Linked DNA regions of Homo sapiens: region 2 is linked to region 1. The links are contacts of gene promoters, found by promoter capture Hi-C in human tissues and cell types (Jung and others, 2019). All regions are on one chromosome and are shown on one strand. The core of a region is centred on a gene start or on the middle of the fragment in contact, and the rest is flanking DNA. Distances in the headings are between cores, read along the strand shown. Region 1 holds the start of WDR4 (WDR4 tRNA N7-guanosine methyltransferase non-catalytic subunit). Region 2 holds the start of LOC101928212 (a long non-coding RNA gene).

Region 1 (7,921 bases), core at 1,608-4,107:
AAAGCTTCCCCACATCTCACCCTTTATTTTCTTGTGACTTCTTTTCTGCAGCACTGCAGTCATAGATGAAGAGGCTGTCATCATCACTAAAGAGAAATAACAATAATTTTAAAAGGAGTTATCATTAGAGAGAAATAACAAATTTTTTTTTTTTGAGACGGAGTTTCGCTCTCGTTGTCCAGGCTCCAGTACAATGGCACGATCTTGGCTCACCGCAACCTCCGCCTCCCAGGTTCAAACGATTCTCCTGCCTCAGCCTCCCCAGTAGCTGAGATTACAGGCATGCACCAGCACTCCCAGCTAATTTTTACTTTTTGTAGAAACGGGGTTTCTCCATGTTGATCAGGGTGATCTCAAATCCCCAACCTCAGGTGATCCACCAACCTCAGCCTCCCAAAGTGCTCACAGGTGTGAGCCACTGCGCCTGGCCCATGTGAGCCACTGCGCCTGGCCCTAATTTTTTTTTTTTTTTTTTTTTTTGAGTTGGAGTCTCGCTCTATCACTCAGGCTGGAGTGCAAGGGCATGATCTCAGGTCACTGCAACCTCCCCCTCCTGGATTCAAGCAATTCTCCCGCCTCAGCCTTCCCGGTAGCTGGAATTACAGGTATCTGCCACCACGCCTGGCTAATTTTTGTAGTTTTGGTAGAGACGGGGTTTCGCCATGTTGGCCAGGCTGGTCTCAAGCTCCTGACCTCAGATGATCTGCCCGCCTCAGCCTCCCAAAGTGCTGAGATTATAGGCAGAGCCACTGCGCCCAGCCTAACAATGATTTTTAAAAGAGCACTTTGTTAAAAAAAAAAAAAAAAAGTTGATTTTTTTTCTCTGTGGAACAAAAAATATTTGCACACTCATTAAATTAAAAGTTGTATACTTGACAAGAAAACTGTCTAGATACAATATTTCAGGGAACAGTTAACAAACTTTATTTGCTTAATCTCTTATTGGAGTACGTCATACTGCATAGTTCTGTGGGAAAAAAAAGTTCAGTAAAACAAATGAGGGATAAATACTCAACAGGAATTAATATGCTATTCTTTTAGGCACCACAAAATCTATGCGACATGGTTATAAGAAATTACGGGCCGGGCGCGGTGGTTCACGCCTGTAATCCCAGCACTTTGGGAGGCCGAGATGGGCGGATCACGAGGTCAGGAGATCGAGACCAGCCTGGCTAACACAGTGAAACCCCCATCTCCACTAAAAATATAAAAAATTAGCCAGGCATGGTGGCAGGCGCCTGCAGTCCCAACTACTCGGGAGGCTGAGGCAGGAGAATGGCGTGAACCCGGGAGGCGGAGCTTGCAGTGAGCCAAGATCGCGCCACTGCACTCCAGCCTGGGCGACAAAGCGAGACTCCTCAAAAAAAAAAAAAAAGAAAAAAAAGAAATTATGTTCTGATACTGTTGAGCGTTCAGTGGGATTCTGTATACAAATTTCAAAGAGCCATTACTATTTAGAAACATATCTCACCTACCTGAAAGTGTTCCCATGACCCCAGGCACTTACCAACATAAGAATCACCCATTTTCCATACTGAACCTAAACTTCGGTTTATCCCATCCTCACCCCCTGGCACGTATCTTGTACATATTTATAGCCTTTAAAGCGAGTGCACCAAAAAACTTTCCATATGGAACCGTGGACTTGTCTTCCAAGTCAGAAACTCCACCAGCCACTAGAATTTCCTCAAAATGCAAAGACTGAAGGTAAGCAAATCATGTCTAATATATCCACAGCTCACTCTGGCAGATATTAGACCGTGAGTCTCTAAAACAAAATCATCTGGGATATGTGACGGGTTTCTGAGTACAATTTTTGTGAGACCTAACTTAACATCGAATTGGCTTTCTAAAACCAAACGAACAAAAAATATACAGTATATCTGACAGACACGTCGTCCGTTTCAAATATGAAATCACAAATAACCTGGGAAAGGAAACGAGGGGCTGAAACTGACAGCACTACTAATTGCTCCGAGAGTCCTGAGTTAGGACTGTTCCATCAACAAACATTTACTAAGTTAAAAATCCCCTGCGTCGTCCTAGCACTGGCGATACACTAAGGAAGGAGAATAAAATTACGGAAAGCAAAACCCGAGCCGTGCGAAGGGCCACTAGGGAGGTGCGCACTGCGAGCTCCACGTGCACCCTTGGGTTGGGTAAGTGTCGGAGATGACTTGGAGCCCTAAGGAGCAATTAAGGCCAGGTGAGTGGATGCAGGCCGGGAAGAGGGAACAGACAACCCTGCAAAAAGAGGGAGCGCGCTTGGAGGTCAGTGAGCTCGCAGTGAGTAAGCCCCTCCCTTCTCACCAGGGAGACCCGAGACCCGCTTCTTCCCAGTTCTGCAGAGCGTGTTCGGCCGGGCCTTGCTGACTGGTCAGCGTCGCCCCACGTGCTCTACCTACCCGGTCCCCGCCGGCGCCGCGGAGACCGGAAGCGACCCGGCGGCGCTAACCGGGCAAGAACACCGCAGACCAGCCATCTAGTGCAAGGAGCGCGCCGGAGCCGGGGAGCGGACGCCGAGAGCGGACGGCGAAAGCGGACCCTCCAGGCGCAGAGACGCGGCCAGGCCGAGACTGCGGCGGAGGACTCGTGGGCTGGAGCGGAGTTCCCCGGGGTCACCCCAGAGTGGGTGCGACCAGGCGGTGCGGGAGAAGCGGGGTCGCCAGGACCCGACGCGCGCCCGCAGCCTGGTCTCCCTGTTCCAAGACCAAGGCCCCCTCACCTGCTTGCTATGGAGGTGGCCAGGAATCGGCTGCCGCCCCGCACCACCAACGTCTGCCCGCACAACGCCAGTCCCACAGAGCCCGCCATGTACCCGCCCGCCTCACCGCCATACACATGTGCCAGCCCAGAGCCTCTTCCTGTCCGCACCGGTCGGTGACGCCAGGCGCAGACGCCGAGAGATGACGTATACCCCACGTACCGCGCATGCTCAAGGACGAGCCTGCCTTGAGCATGCGTGAAAGGTGCTGTGACCGCCCTCCGGGTTGTGGCTGGTGGCCTTCGGTGTTTCGGGTTTGGCAGTTCACTCACCAAGGTGATCTGATGGAGTGCACTTCGCACGATTCCAAGTACTTGCCTAATGTTCATCCTTTCCTCTAGACGGGGTAGGGCTGGTTCTGGATCTTTTTCCGCGGTAGCTGGAGAGACGTAGGACCTGATGATGGCTACTAGATGCCTGGTAAATGATCCTTCAAGAAGTGAATGAACCGGGGGCCGTGGCTCACATGAAGTCAGCAGTTCGAGAGCAGCCTGACCAATATGGTGAAACCCCGTTTCTACTAAAAGTACAAAAATTTGTTGGGCGTGGTGGCGTGCGACTGTAGCCCCAACTACTTGGGAGGCTGAGACAGAAGAATTGCCTGAACCCGGGAGGCGGAGGTTGCAGTGAGTCGAGATCGCCCCCGCTGCACTCCAGCCAGGGCGACAGAGCGAGACTCTCTCTCAAAAAAAAAAAAAATGTCCAAGATGTGGTCATGGGTGAGGGTGTCTCGGGTGGCGTCAAGTCTGAGGTCGCTAGAAGTAAGCCTACTGAATCTTTGCACTTAGACAAGCCACAGATGCCTTAAAATCTCCGAACTGTAGTGATATTTTCAACCCAAACTATGGTTAGTTTCCAGTGTTCATCCCAAGATCCCCAAAAGCCTCTTACAATCCCAGCATCAGGCACAAAATCTAGGATCTCACGGTCTGTTTTAGATTGGCTTGTCCGGTGCAGCTCCTCTTGATCCAGAGACTTACAAACTAAAAAGATTAATTTTCTCTCCCGTGCACGCAATATATGATGGTGAGCCGGGACCAGATAACCACAATAAATACTTGCATGTGAAAATGAGAAGAGGAGGAGACACAGTAATCACTGGTCCAAAGCAATTCTGAAATCCTACTGGAAGATGTTTTCAGGCCCTACAAGAATAAGAAGTCTTAACCAGGCCCGAGTTCTGCTTCCTGGGAGTATCTCCCCAGGCTGTATCTCAGCACAGCTCTTGCCTCTGCCCTCTTGGGTGTCCCTCCTTTTCCAGCACCTTCTTGGCCATGTTGAAGAATGTGCCCTTTGAGAAACTTTCTCAACCTCCTTCCTGTCATTAGCAAATTGTGAGCCCACAGACCTTTTTTCACTCTAAACTGTTCTGTCCACATTTTGGCAGCTGGTGGTGCTTTGTTCACTACAAGTCCCTTAAAAGCTTTATGGGCTTCTCAAGAATCTGATTCAGGTGCTCTCCATGCCCAAGAAGCCACTCCCACTAGTCTTTTTTTTTTTTTTAGACGGAGTCTCGCTCTGTCGCCCAGGCTGAAGTGCAACCTCCACCTCCCGAGTTCACGCCATTCTCCTGCCTCAGCCTCCTGAGTAGCTGGGACTACAGGCGCCCGCCACCACGCCTGGCTAATTTTTTGTATTTTTCAGTGGAGACGGGGTTTCACCATGTTAGCCAGGATGTTCTGGATCTCCTGACCTTGTGATCCGCCTGCCTCGGCCTCCCAAAGTGCTGGGATTACAGGCGTGAGCCACCGCGCCCAGCCACTTGTTAACATTTAAATCATTGAGATCACCTTGACTTCAGCATTATTCTTAAGGCCATATTTTATTAGCGCCACTCTGAATTTGATCTTTGGCCCAGGTTATGACTTACTTTGAGAACTTGTTACCAACTATTGGGTCTAATAATACTTTCCCCAGCTTCAACCCAAAGTGTGCTCTAAATTCTGCTGGCCAGTTTGTTTGTTTGTTTGTTTTTAACCACACTCTTTTCTATAAGTGTCTCAACATATTCAAGCAAAAGAAACACAGGTTAATCTCAACATTATACTGATATGATCTTTTTCAAGTCCCAGAGTTCAGTAGTTGCCTTTTTCTCTGCCCATCTTACTGAAGGGCAACAATTTTACAAATCCTTCACCGTGACATAGAGTTGTTCACCATTTGTCCACCTCCCGTAGTTTTCCTCACCATTGTTCCAGTGTTCACTACCAGTTTCCCCACTGCTTTTCCAGACTTCTAGTCCAAAGCTAATGCCACATGTTACAGTAGCACCTACTGCTAGGTACAAATGTCTGTAGCATGCATATCTTCCTTGTAGTCCTAGATATAGATCAACAAGCTCATAAAAACTATGGCTTTCTTTTTTTCTTTTTTTTTGAGGCGGAGTTTCACTCTTGTTGCCCAGGCTGGAGTGCAATGGCGTGATCTCCGCTCACCAAAACCTCTGCCTCCCGGGTTCAAGCGATTCTGCATCAGCCTCCCAAGTAGCTGGAATTACAGGCATGTGCCACCGTGCCCAGCTAATTTTGTATTTTTAGTAGAGACGGGGTTTCACCATGTTGGCCAGGCTGGTCTCAAACTCCTGACCTCAATTGATTCTCCTACCTTGGCCTCCCAAAGTGCTGGGATTACAGGCGTGATCCATGATCCATGTTAGTCAGGCTGGTCTCAAACTCCTGACCTCAGGTGATCTGCCCGCCTCGGCCTCCCAAAGTGTTGGGATTACAGGCGTGAGCCACTGCACCCGGCCCAACTATGGCCATTTTTATAAATCATTGATTACATTAGCCTAGAGTGAGTGTGGGCTTTCTTTTTCAATTAAGAAACTTATGGATTGGCCGGGTGCAGTGGCTCACACCTGTAATCCCAACACTTTAGGAGGCCAAGGCGAGCAGATCACCTGAGGTCAGGAGTTTGAGACCAGCCTGGCCAACACGGTGAAACCCCATCTCTACTAAAAATACAAAAATTAGCTGGGCTTGGTGGCATGCACCTGTAATCCCAGCTACTCAGAAGGCTGAGGCAGGAGAATCACTAGAACCCAGGAGGTGGAGGTTACAGTGAGCCAAGATCACCCATTGCATTCCAGCCTGGGCAACAAGGGTGAAACTCCATCTCAGAAAAAAGAAAAAAAAAACTTATGGATTGTTGTGTTGTATTTCTAGTCCTGTCCTGAGCAAAAGGTATTAGGAACCTGAGAATCCTTCCATTAGCACAATAGAAAAATGGGCAAAAAGGCCAGGCACGGTGACTCACACCTGTAATCCCAGCACTTTGGGAGGCCAAGGTAGGAGAATCAATTGAGGTCAGAAGTTTGAGACCAGCCTGGCCAACATGGGGAAACCCCATCTCTACTAAAAATACAAAAATCAGGCTGGGCGCAGTGGCTAACGCCTGTAATCCCAGCACTTTGAGAGGCCAAGGCAGGTGGATCATCTGAGGTCAGGAGTTTGAGACCAGCCTGGCCAACATAGTGAAACCCCGTCTGTACTAAAAATACAAAAATTAGCCGGGCATGGTGGCGGACGCCTGTAGTCCCAGCTACTTGGGAGGCTGAGGCAGGACAACCGCTTGAACGTGGGAGGTGGAGGTTGCAATAAGCCGAGATCATGCCACTGCACTCCAGCCTGGGTGACGGAGCAAGACTCCGTCTCAAAAAAAAAAAAAAAAAAATAGAAAAATCAGCTGGGAGTGGTGGTGCGTGCCTGTAGTCCCAGATACTCAGGAGGCTGAGGTACGAGAATCACTTGAACCGAGGAGGTGGAGATTGCAGTGAGCCGAGATTGCGCCACTGCACTCCAACCCGAGTAACAGAGTGAGACTCTGTCTCAAAAAAAAAAAAAAAAAGAAAAATGGGCAAGAAGTTACCCTTTTTTTTTTTTTTTTTACAAACTGGCAAGACGACATAAGCATTGTCTTATGGTCCTTCAGTTAAAAAAAAAATTGTGTAAAAACAAAAATGGACAAAGACCCATTAATTTCATGGTGGTTGTAGTGGGTTGAAAGGTGGCCCCCTAAAATGTATGTCCACCCCTGGAAACTGGGGATGTGACCTTTTTTGGGGAAAGGGTCTTTTCTAATGTGATTAAGTTAAGGATTGCAAAATGAGAGCATCCTGGATTTGGGTGGACCCTAAATCGAATGTTATGTGTACTGAGAAGAGAAGGGAGAAGACAGAGGAGAATGCCAGATGAAGACAGAAACAGAGATTGAAGTTATGTGGCCATAATTCAAGGATTGCTGGCAACACCAGAAGCCAAGAGAAAGATGAGGAAGAATTCTCCCCTAGACCTTTCAGAAGGAGCGTGGCCCAGCCAACACCCTGACTTCAGACTTCTGGCCTCCAGAACTGTGAGAATAAATTCTTACTGTTGTAATCCACCTGATATGTGGTAATGTGTACATTTCAGTGGGTTTTAGTATATATACAGAATTGTGCATCCATCACCACAATTTTAGAACATTTTCATCACCCACAAAATAAATCTTAAACCCAGTAGCAGTCACTCCCCCTTTCACCCTCCCCATAAACCCCTGGTAACCATTAATCTACTTTGTTTTATGGATTTTGCTAGTCTGGACATTTCATATAATCTGGCTTCTGTCACTGAATATTAGGTTTCCAAGGTTCATGGATATTGTAGCATGTATCAGTACTTCACTGCTTTTCATGGCCGAATAATATTCCACTGAATGCATATATCACATATATCACATTTTGTTTATCTGCTCATTGGTTGATAGGCAGTTTGGGATTTCCCACCTTTTGGCTATAATGAATAATGGTGTTGTGAACATTCCACTGGGAATGGAATTGTTGAGTCATATGGTAACATTTAAACTTTTCAGGAACTGGCCAGGTGTGGTGGATTGAACCTGGGAGGTAGAGGTTGCAATGAGCTGAGATTGCGCCACTGCACTCCAGCCTGGGTGATGGATCACACCTGTAATCCCAGCACTTTGGGAGGCCGAGGTGGGTGGATCACAAGGTCAGGAGTTCGAAATCAGCCTGACCAACATTGTGAAACCCCACTTCTACTAAAAATACAAAAATTAGCTGGTCGTGGTGTTGCGTACCTGTAATCCCAGCTACTCAGGAGGCTGAGGCAGGAGAATCACTTGAACCCGGGAGGCAGAGGTTGCAGTGAGCCGAGATCA
Region 2 (7,921 bases), core at 3,914-6,413, 310 kb before region 1:
AGAGGCGCTGGGGGATTCGGCCCTTCTCATCCAGGTACCATGCCCTGCCTTGGTCACCTTTGTATTGGACGTGTCCTGAAACTGCCTGAGTGTGCGTGAGCATGCAGACTTGTGTCTACATGGGCATGGAAAATTCTGGAAGGATCCACATCAGACCATTAGCAATGGTCAGCCTTCACGGGGTAGAGGCAGAGGAGAGACTTTCACTTATTTTTTAGACTTCAAAATACGTAGGTTCTGGATGATTTTCATATTGTGTGTTCTTTATTTTATATACATATTACGTGCATATACAAGCATTTATTTTTTTGAACGCTGGTTCATTTTTATAGTTTTAGGCTTCTAGGCACTGTTTCCCCTGATCTTTTTCCCCTCCTATTGTCCTCATTTTGGCTTTTTTCCCATTGTCTATGCAACATTTTCAAAACCAGAGCTCCTGGCGGCTGCTCACCGAGGACCTGCGCCAGCCTTGGTTTCTCAGCTCTCCCCTCCTCCCTTCTTCCCCTGGCGTTTGCTATTGATCAGGTTGAATTTTAGGTCCTGCAGAGACATCTGACAGGGGTCCCAGGAAGGCCCTGGCTGTCGAGGAATCCAGCAGACACGTGGATGTGTCTGGGAAGGAAGGCCGGCGCAGCTCAGGGCAGGGGCGCGCGTTGCGCACCTTCACGCCTCTCACGCTGGCTGCTCTGGGGCCTCAGGGAGGAGCAGGACTGTGCGGAACAAACGTTTTTTATTTGAAGAGAATCCTAAGAGTTCTTGTAACTAGAACCAAGCATTTCTGATGACTTTTGACTCTTAAAAACCCTTGAAGTTTTAACTCTCCAAGGCAAGCTTGGGGTGGAGTTTAAATAATGGGAAACACCCTCACGATGAGTTGTTTTGCAGAGCAGTTTGAGTAAATGGTCATACAGAGGCTTAGGTTTACTTCTCATGCTGTGGCGATAACTGCACGTCTGTTTTTCCTCTCTTCTAGGGGACTCATAAAAGTCTGAAAGGCAACGCGCACGCCCTCTCCACCGTGACGGCCATCATTGACGGGACGGGCTCTGTAGGTGCGCAGAGAGTTTTAGCTCTGGGAGGTTTGGTGTCTTAGGGGAAATCACATTGTCACATGCTCGTGAACAGGTACCCAGGGTTCCAACTGCATCTATAACATTGGGTGGGCCGGCTTCTTACTATACGAGCAGATGAGCAGGGGACATCGGCACACAGAGATGGTCACGCATGCCTGGGTGGCTTCAGAGAGACGGGCGTGTGACTAGCTGTGCGTGTCCAGGTTTTCACCCGAGGCAGTGGTTGGCAAACTACAGCCCGTGGGCTAACTCAGGTCCACTCATTATTTATCGCCTTCATCTCAAGAAAGGCAGAATCTTATTTAAATTACAGAAAAACCAATTGGTCCAAAATCATACAGGGTTCTGAGTGTTACCAGCATCGTCGAAGCTCTTGAAGAGAATTCAGTGGCATATTCTGGAATTTAAAAAGGTGGCAGAATAAGCAAGCCATCCCCTTAGGGAGCAGGCAGGTGGAGCTGGCAGAGTGCCAGTCTCCTCGCCCATGTGCAGCCTGACGGCACGGCTGTGGCCTTCCCTGAGCCCTTGTATGGGGAGCACGCACAGTGGCTGCACCTGCCAGGCGAAAATCAGGAGTTGCCACACCTGCCAGGTGAAGATCAGGAGGGTCCTTCCTACATGGGGGACGTTATGGGGGGCTGCCTGGTGTGGCTGTCACAGCTAATAAGGAGGACCTGGGGTGCCAACCTGTGTGTCACTTGCTGCGTGGGGGTCTCCAGTAAAGCCGAGTGTTTGGTAGATGAAGGTGGCTCGGTAGACCCAGGTCAGCCAGAACCTGGTGCTGGAGCCTTCCCACTGGCTCGTGCAGGGAGCTGATGTTGTTCTTGGCTGCCCCTGGCCTTGGTGCCAGCAGGCTGGAAACATCACAGCACGTTTCTGGGTGCCCACTGCTGTCTCAGTGATGCAGAATGCAAAGCCCTCCCGCCACATGGCCTCCCTGCTGCTCCTCCGAAGGCCAGGCTGGCCCCCGTGCGGGCTCTTTGCTCTGGTCACACCCCGTGCCTGGGAAGGTCCCCACAGGTGACCTCGTGCCGCACTCCCTCGTGCCGCACTCCCTCGTGCCGCACTCCCTCGTGCCGCACTCCCTCGTGCCGCACTCCCTCGTGCCTTGAGTCTTTGCCCAGATATCATCCTCTCAGCAAGACTTCCTGGGACCACCCTGCTGAGAACGCGTGAACCCTTCCGACTCGGCCTCCAGGCCCCTCTCCCGGGTCTGTTCTCTGGAGCGCTCTCCCCATCCGCAGTGGGATTCGGTGCACTCCTCTGTTTTGTCTCCTCTGTCTCCTGCCACTGGAACGGAAGCTCCAGGAGGACGGGATTTGCCTGATTCTTTGCTGTATCCCAGTGAACTGAATGAGCTGCTCCCAGACAGTTAGAATCGCAGCCGGGGCCCAGGCGGCTGACTGCACAGTGAGGAGCCAGGCCGGACAGGCCCCAGGCGCCCCCGCCCAGCCCTGGGTGGCGGGAACCCCAGCTCCACGCTGCTGCTGCTGCGTTTCCTTGTTCTGCGTTTCCTTGTTCTGGCCTTGTTCTGAGAAGCGGCGGGCAGGGTGGCCGTTGCCATGTGACACACGGCCTGATTCTGAGAAGCGGCGGGCAGGGTGGCCGTTGCCATGTCATGCGACACACGGCCTGGTTCTGAGAAGTGGTGGGCAGGGTGGCTGTTGCCATGTGACACACGGCCTGGTTCTGAGAAGCGGCGGGCAGGGTGGCCATTGCCATGTGACACATGGCCTGGTTCTGAGAAGCGGCAGGCAGGGTGGCCGTTGCCATGTCATGTGACACACGGCCTGGTTCTGAGAAGCGGCAGGCAGGGTGGCCGTTGTCATGCGACACACGGCCTGGTTCTGAGAAGTGGTGGGCAGGGTGGCTGTTGCTCAGAAAGCCACACTTTGGCTTTTGCTGTTCACCAAAGTGAGACCAGACCAGCCTCGTCTCTGCCCTTCATGTTGGTTCCTTCCTTTCACTGGATCCAGAGGGGCTTTGAGTGTATTGGGTGGCGGCAGTAGTCACCCCTCTGATCTTCTGTCTTGGGCATCTCAGTAGGAAGTCGGGGGACTGCGGGGCTGAGCTCAGTTCTGGTTGACGTTGTGACTGCGTGGCCTTCTCTTGGCCTTGTGCCTCAGTGGACTGCAGTCTGCAATTCGGTCTGACTCTGCTGTGAAACCCTGTTCTTAAAGCTAACTTGGCGCTCTACTGGCAACCCCGATTGCTGTTTTAAAAGCAGAGGATCAGCATAAAAAAAGAGAAGGAAATCATGAACTAGGTGAAAAAACACATTTTTCTTCATATTCTCAAAATGAGAGGGAAGCAGAAGTCTGTGGCTAAGGGTGGAGACCCTGCGTCTGTGAACAGAGGCCACTGCCCACCACTGCCCCCAAGCAGGTGGAGGGAGGCACAGTTCTGAATGCCTTTGGCCCCTCACAAGGAAGGTGGCACACACACCGGACCCCCTCTGGCCTTCTGTTAACCTGCACCAAGTCCTGACTGTCCGCGGAGCTGCCGCGCCCACCTTGATGGCTGCTGCGTTACACCAGAGGCAGGACCAGGACCTGACTCCTCCAGGCTCCACTGCCCATCAGTGCCTGCTGCCTGCTCAGTGAATGGTCACCATGGAAACGGCGCTCAGGCCTACCCACCCCCACCACCACGCCTTGGTCATTGTTCCTTCCATGAGTGAGTGCTGCCCAGCAAGACAAAGTACAGGCTCCAGTGGGAAGGCCACCATGTCAGCCAAGTCCCTTCCCGAAGGAGGTGCCCGCATGCTTATTCAGTGTCACTGTCCACTCCTTGGCAGTGACTCGGGTGGAGGCGAAACATGACTAATCGTAAATCACCCCTGCCTTCTCCCAAGTGCCACACGGTTTGTTGACACGGTGTGCGCCTGGGGCGTTCACAGTGCTTAGAATCGCAGAGGTTGCCGTTTCTGTACATTTCATGCAGAGCAATTAAATAGGGCACTGCATTTTTCTTCAAGTTAATTTTTATTTATTAAAGTAAAACATAATGTACCTTAGAAGCTAGACAGTCCTACAAGCTTATTATGTTGTACAGCGGCGTTCCGTCCCCCTCCCCAGCCCTCTCTTTCTAGAGGCAGCCAATTTCAGCTGCCTCTCTCTGCTTACCTACGTATTTCCATGTTTCTTGGTTCATCATCTGAACGTCATCAGCTGTGCTCCTCTTACGGAAGAGGGGACCTGGCTCCCTTCCACCCCGACATTGCCCACCCCTCCTCCTCCTCAGTTATACCAGCCATGCTTCTGCCCTTCACTTTCCAGCCAAGAAACAAACTTTAATTATGCACCCTCAATAGATACATCTTGTTTTTTCCCGGGTAAGTAAACATCTCTTTTCCTCTTTTTCACATTTCCGACAAAGTTCTTCCTTCCCTGCACCGTGGTCGCCATCCTGCCCTGCCCCACCCCTTTCACGCCATCAGCCTCACTCCGCCCACTGCGCGGCTTGGCCCCAGAGCACCTGTCACCACGGTGCTGGGAGTCCCCCTCCTCTCTTGCCTGCGACACAGCCCTAGCAGTCTAGACCCCTGTTTACCACTCCTGTGGTGGAAACTGGCTCCTAGCAGCTTCCTGAGTTAGGGGAGGTGGGTTCTGCAAGCTTACAAGTGCGTGATGGCTGGATTCTGCTCTCGCCTGAGGCAATGTGGACGTGGAAACACCTTCTCTTCAGAACCCCCGTCTTCCAGCCTCCATTGCTGTCACTGACACGTTCACAGACATTCTGACCCCAGCCCTTGCTTTCTGACCTTCTCTTTTTTCTCTTAGATCTCCAGGTTCCCTTCCTTACCCCGGGAGCCTTTCTTCATCCACCGTCCTGGGGCACCTGGTGGCACCTTCAGTCTGGAAACACCTGCCCTTCACTTTAGGGGAATTGGGCCCCTGTTCGTTTGATAAGTTTTCCTACCATTTTCTGATTTGTTTTTTCTTTCTGGAAAATGTATTAGTCAGATGTAGGCTTTTCTGGATTAATCCTTCAACTTTCCTTTCTTTCTTTCCCTTCCTGCCTGTCTCCCTGTTCTTTCTTACACTTTCTCAGGGAGATTCTTGACTGTATTTTCCAACTTTGTATCGACCATTTTACTTTTCCTGCCATATTTTCAATGTTTACTGATGTTTCTCTGCCCTTTCAGTGCATCCTGTTTTATTTCATGTTAGACTGAATCATGTGAAATTGATAACAGGTTTTCAGCCACACACACACAAAAAAAAAAAAAAGAGTGTGTCCTGAGGTTCAGCTTAGTCTTCTGTTGGCTCTCTGGGGGGAGGTTCAACTTAGTCTTCTGTTGGCTCTCTGTGGGTGCTGTGAGCTCTGGGAATGTTCTTCTCCTCCAGGCTCCCTCCTGCCAGCTTGCTTGCTTTCACGTTGGGGTGTTCCCCAGACACAGGGCAGACCTAGGTTGCCCCTTCATCACTTCCCATGGAAGAAGGGGCCCTGCATAGTGGTTTGAAGTCTCTCTGTGGGGACAGTGTGCTGGCTGCTGGTCTCCAGGCAGTGGGACCCTGCGGAACCTGCAGGAGGAGACTCCTTCAGTGCCCAGGGGAGCCTGGGTCCAGCTGCCAACATCCTTGCCATGGCATGGAAGCTTGGTGGAAGCTGGTGTCTTTCCCCAGATCCCCTGTCGCCTGTTAGGTGAGCATCCCTGTCCTGCACTGGGCTTAGTGTCCCCACGGGTTAAGCTGCGCTGTCCTGCACGGGGGCATCAGGAGGAGTCTCTTTATCAGTGAGGATGAGAAAAGAGACCTGGGATCCGAGGTGCGGCAGAGGGAATGTAGCTAACAGTTTGTGATAAAAGACTCAACCCATGCACCTTTTTTCTCTTGCTGACCCCCTTCCGTTCCCACTGCGTTCCTCCTTCCTTGCCTTCCCCTCCCCTGTCTCTTGGGCTCCGCTGGGCCTCGCTCTGCTCCAGGTGTCCCTGTGCTGTCTCCCTCTGAGGATGCTCAGTGGAGCAGGGAACACTGGAGGCTGTGTTAGCTGTCAGCCCTTCTGTGTCCATCTTCCAAAACTACGTGCCCTTCGGTGGGAGGATTTATCATCTTTAGAAGTCAGTGATGGCGCAGTTCATGTTGCTTGGGGGTGTGGAGATAACACATGAGTAGCCGACCATGTTTACCTGGAAGTTCTGAGAATTAAAAAAAAAAACATACAATTGCTCCTGGGATTATAAAATAGTAAGTGCACTTTGTGAACACTTGAAAAAAACAAGTGCCTAGGGCATGAAAGACCCTGGTTATCTTACCTCTCAGAGTTGAATATGTCAGTTCATAGGTTGGTGGAAATTCTTCATGCTTTTTCCCATGCATCTACCAAAACAGGCCATCCTACATGTGTATCAGAATTCATTTCAGTCCCTCTTGGTAAAATGCACCAGATGCTACAAAACACATTCTTAAACAGCAGTCCTTGGGCATTTAGGGGGATACGTTATTTGTTTTCATCATTTAAAAACACATCTTGACATAATTTCAGACTTTGAGAAAGTTGCAGAAATAGTACAAAGAATTCAGACATTTTAGTACATGTGGTTCATCATGCACCCGTGTTTTTACACACACACATGCACACACACATATATGCACACACACATGCATAATTTTTCTGAACCACTTAAGAGTAAGATGCACACATGCTGCCCCTTTCCTCGTAACTATTCAGCATGTACTTCCTAAAAACAAGGAGTTCCATGACAGACCACAGTGCATGATCAGAATCAGAAAGTGAGCATTGAAAGAATATTAGTATCTACAATTCTTATTCAAATTTTACCCAGTTACATTTTTATAGCATAAGAATATCTAAGATTGTGCATTGAATTCAGATTTCCTTACGTGTACTCAAGAAAATAATGGGAGTGTTGGATGAAAAGAATGAACATTGCAATGTCAACACACATTTTTAGGATGGTTCTGGGAAAAGGCTGTGCCAGCTCTGCCTTCCCAGTACGGAGGCGTACAGGTGGAGTATCCTTATCTGAAGTACTTGGGACCAGAAGTGGTTATGTCTTTTTATTTTTTCAGATTGTGGGATATTTGCATTACACTGGTTGAGCATCTCAAATCCCAATTCTGAAATGCCCCAGTGAGCATTTCCTTTGAGTGTCAGCACTCAAAAAGTTACAAATTCTGGAGATTTTGGATTTCAGGTTTTCAGATTTGGAAGGCTCAACCTATACTAGGCCTTGTACCCGCTCCCAATCTGATAGGCCAGGATGAGGTAGTGTAGTTCCATATGTGTTCCTTTCATTGTGAGTGAGGTGTTGAGCCCCATTCTCTGTGGCTGCTAGTTATGTGCTGGGATTTTCTCTAAACAGCACCATGTGTGTCCATTTGCCTGATTTCAGGAGCAGCCCTGGGCCCCCTGCTGGCTGGGCTCCTCTCCCCGTCCGGCTGGAGCAATGTGTTTTACATGCTGATGTTTGCAGATGCCTGTGCCTTACTGGTAAGTCGGCCTATTTTTAGTCCAATCCACCTTGAATGCAGATCTCTGTGGTTGTGTCCAAACACTGGTGGAACTTTCTCCCATGCATTCCTGAGTTATCAGAGAGGTTTGGGTCTTCCCATCTTTTCTAAATATGCGTGGTCTAAAGCTCCTTCTCTCTCTGATTAGAAAAAGTCAGAAACAGAAGCAGGACAGTCTTGCTCTGCAGCCTTGGGCGGGATAGCACAAAGGCCAGGAGCGTGGAGCTCCGTGGCTCTAGATCCTGCCTGTCACCTGTCATGTGTGTGACTTGGGCAGGTTTCGTAACCTCTGCTCCACAGTTTCCACAGCTTTAAAATGGGCATGATAATGGCACCCAGTGACAAGATTGTTGTGGGAATTAAAGCAGATGA

What was found. Contacts are between HindIII fragments. The study calls those that stand out against the background at their distance.
Region 2: a fragment that was not itself captured here is called in contact with the fragment with the promoter of WDR4 in region 1 in 2 of the 25 tissues and cell types used here (lymphoblastoid cells and spleen).

What each region holds. Positions count from the first base shown.
Region 1 is chr21:42,876,682-42,884,602 of GRCh38, forward strand. WDR4 (WDR4 tRNA N7-guanosine methyltransferase non-catalytic subunit) reads right to left here and starts at 2,858. Exons shown (of 11, transcript NM_018669.6): 1 at 2,726-2,858; 2 at 21-86. The coding sequence starts at 2,814. LOC105372817 (a long non-coding RNA gene) reads left to right here and starts at 3,031. Exons shown (of 4, transcript XR_937765.3): 1 at 3,031-3,074; 2 at 6,925-7,114. RefSeq lists enhancers at 920-1,883, 1,884-2,848, 2,501-2,550, 2,581-2,690, 2,761-3,110. The HindIII fragment of the contact is 11,595 bases long and covers 1-7,921 here.
Region 2 is chr21:42,567,387-42,575,307 of GRCh38, forward strand. SLC37A1 (solute carrier family 37 member 1) reads left to right here. Exons shown (of 20, transcript NM_001320537.2): 17 at 974-1,052; 18 at 7,432-7,529. LOC101928212 (a long non-coding RNA gene) reads right to left here and starts at 6,424. Exons shown (of 2, transcript NR_171773.1): 1 at 6,331-6,424; 2 at 5,698-6,213. RefSeq lists an enhancer at 4,336-5,079. The HindIII fragment of the contact is 5,386 bases long and covers 2,471-7,856 here.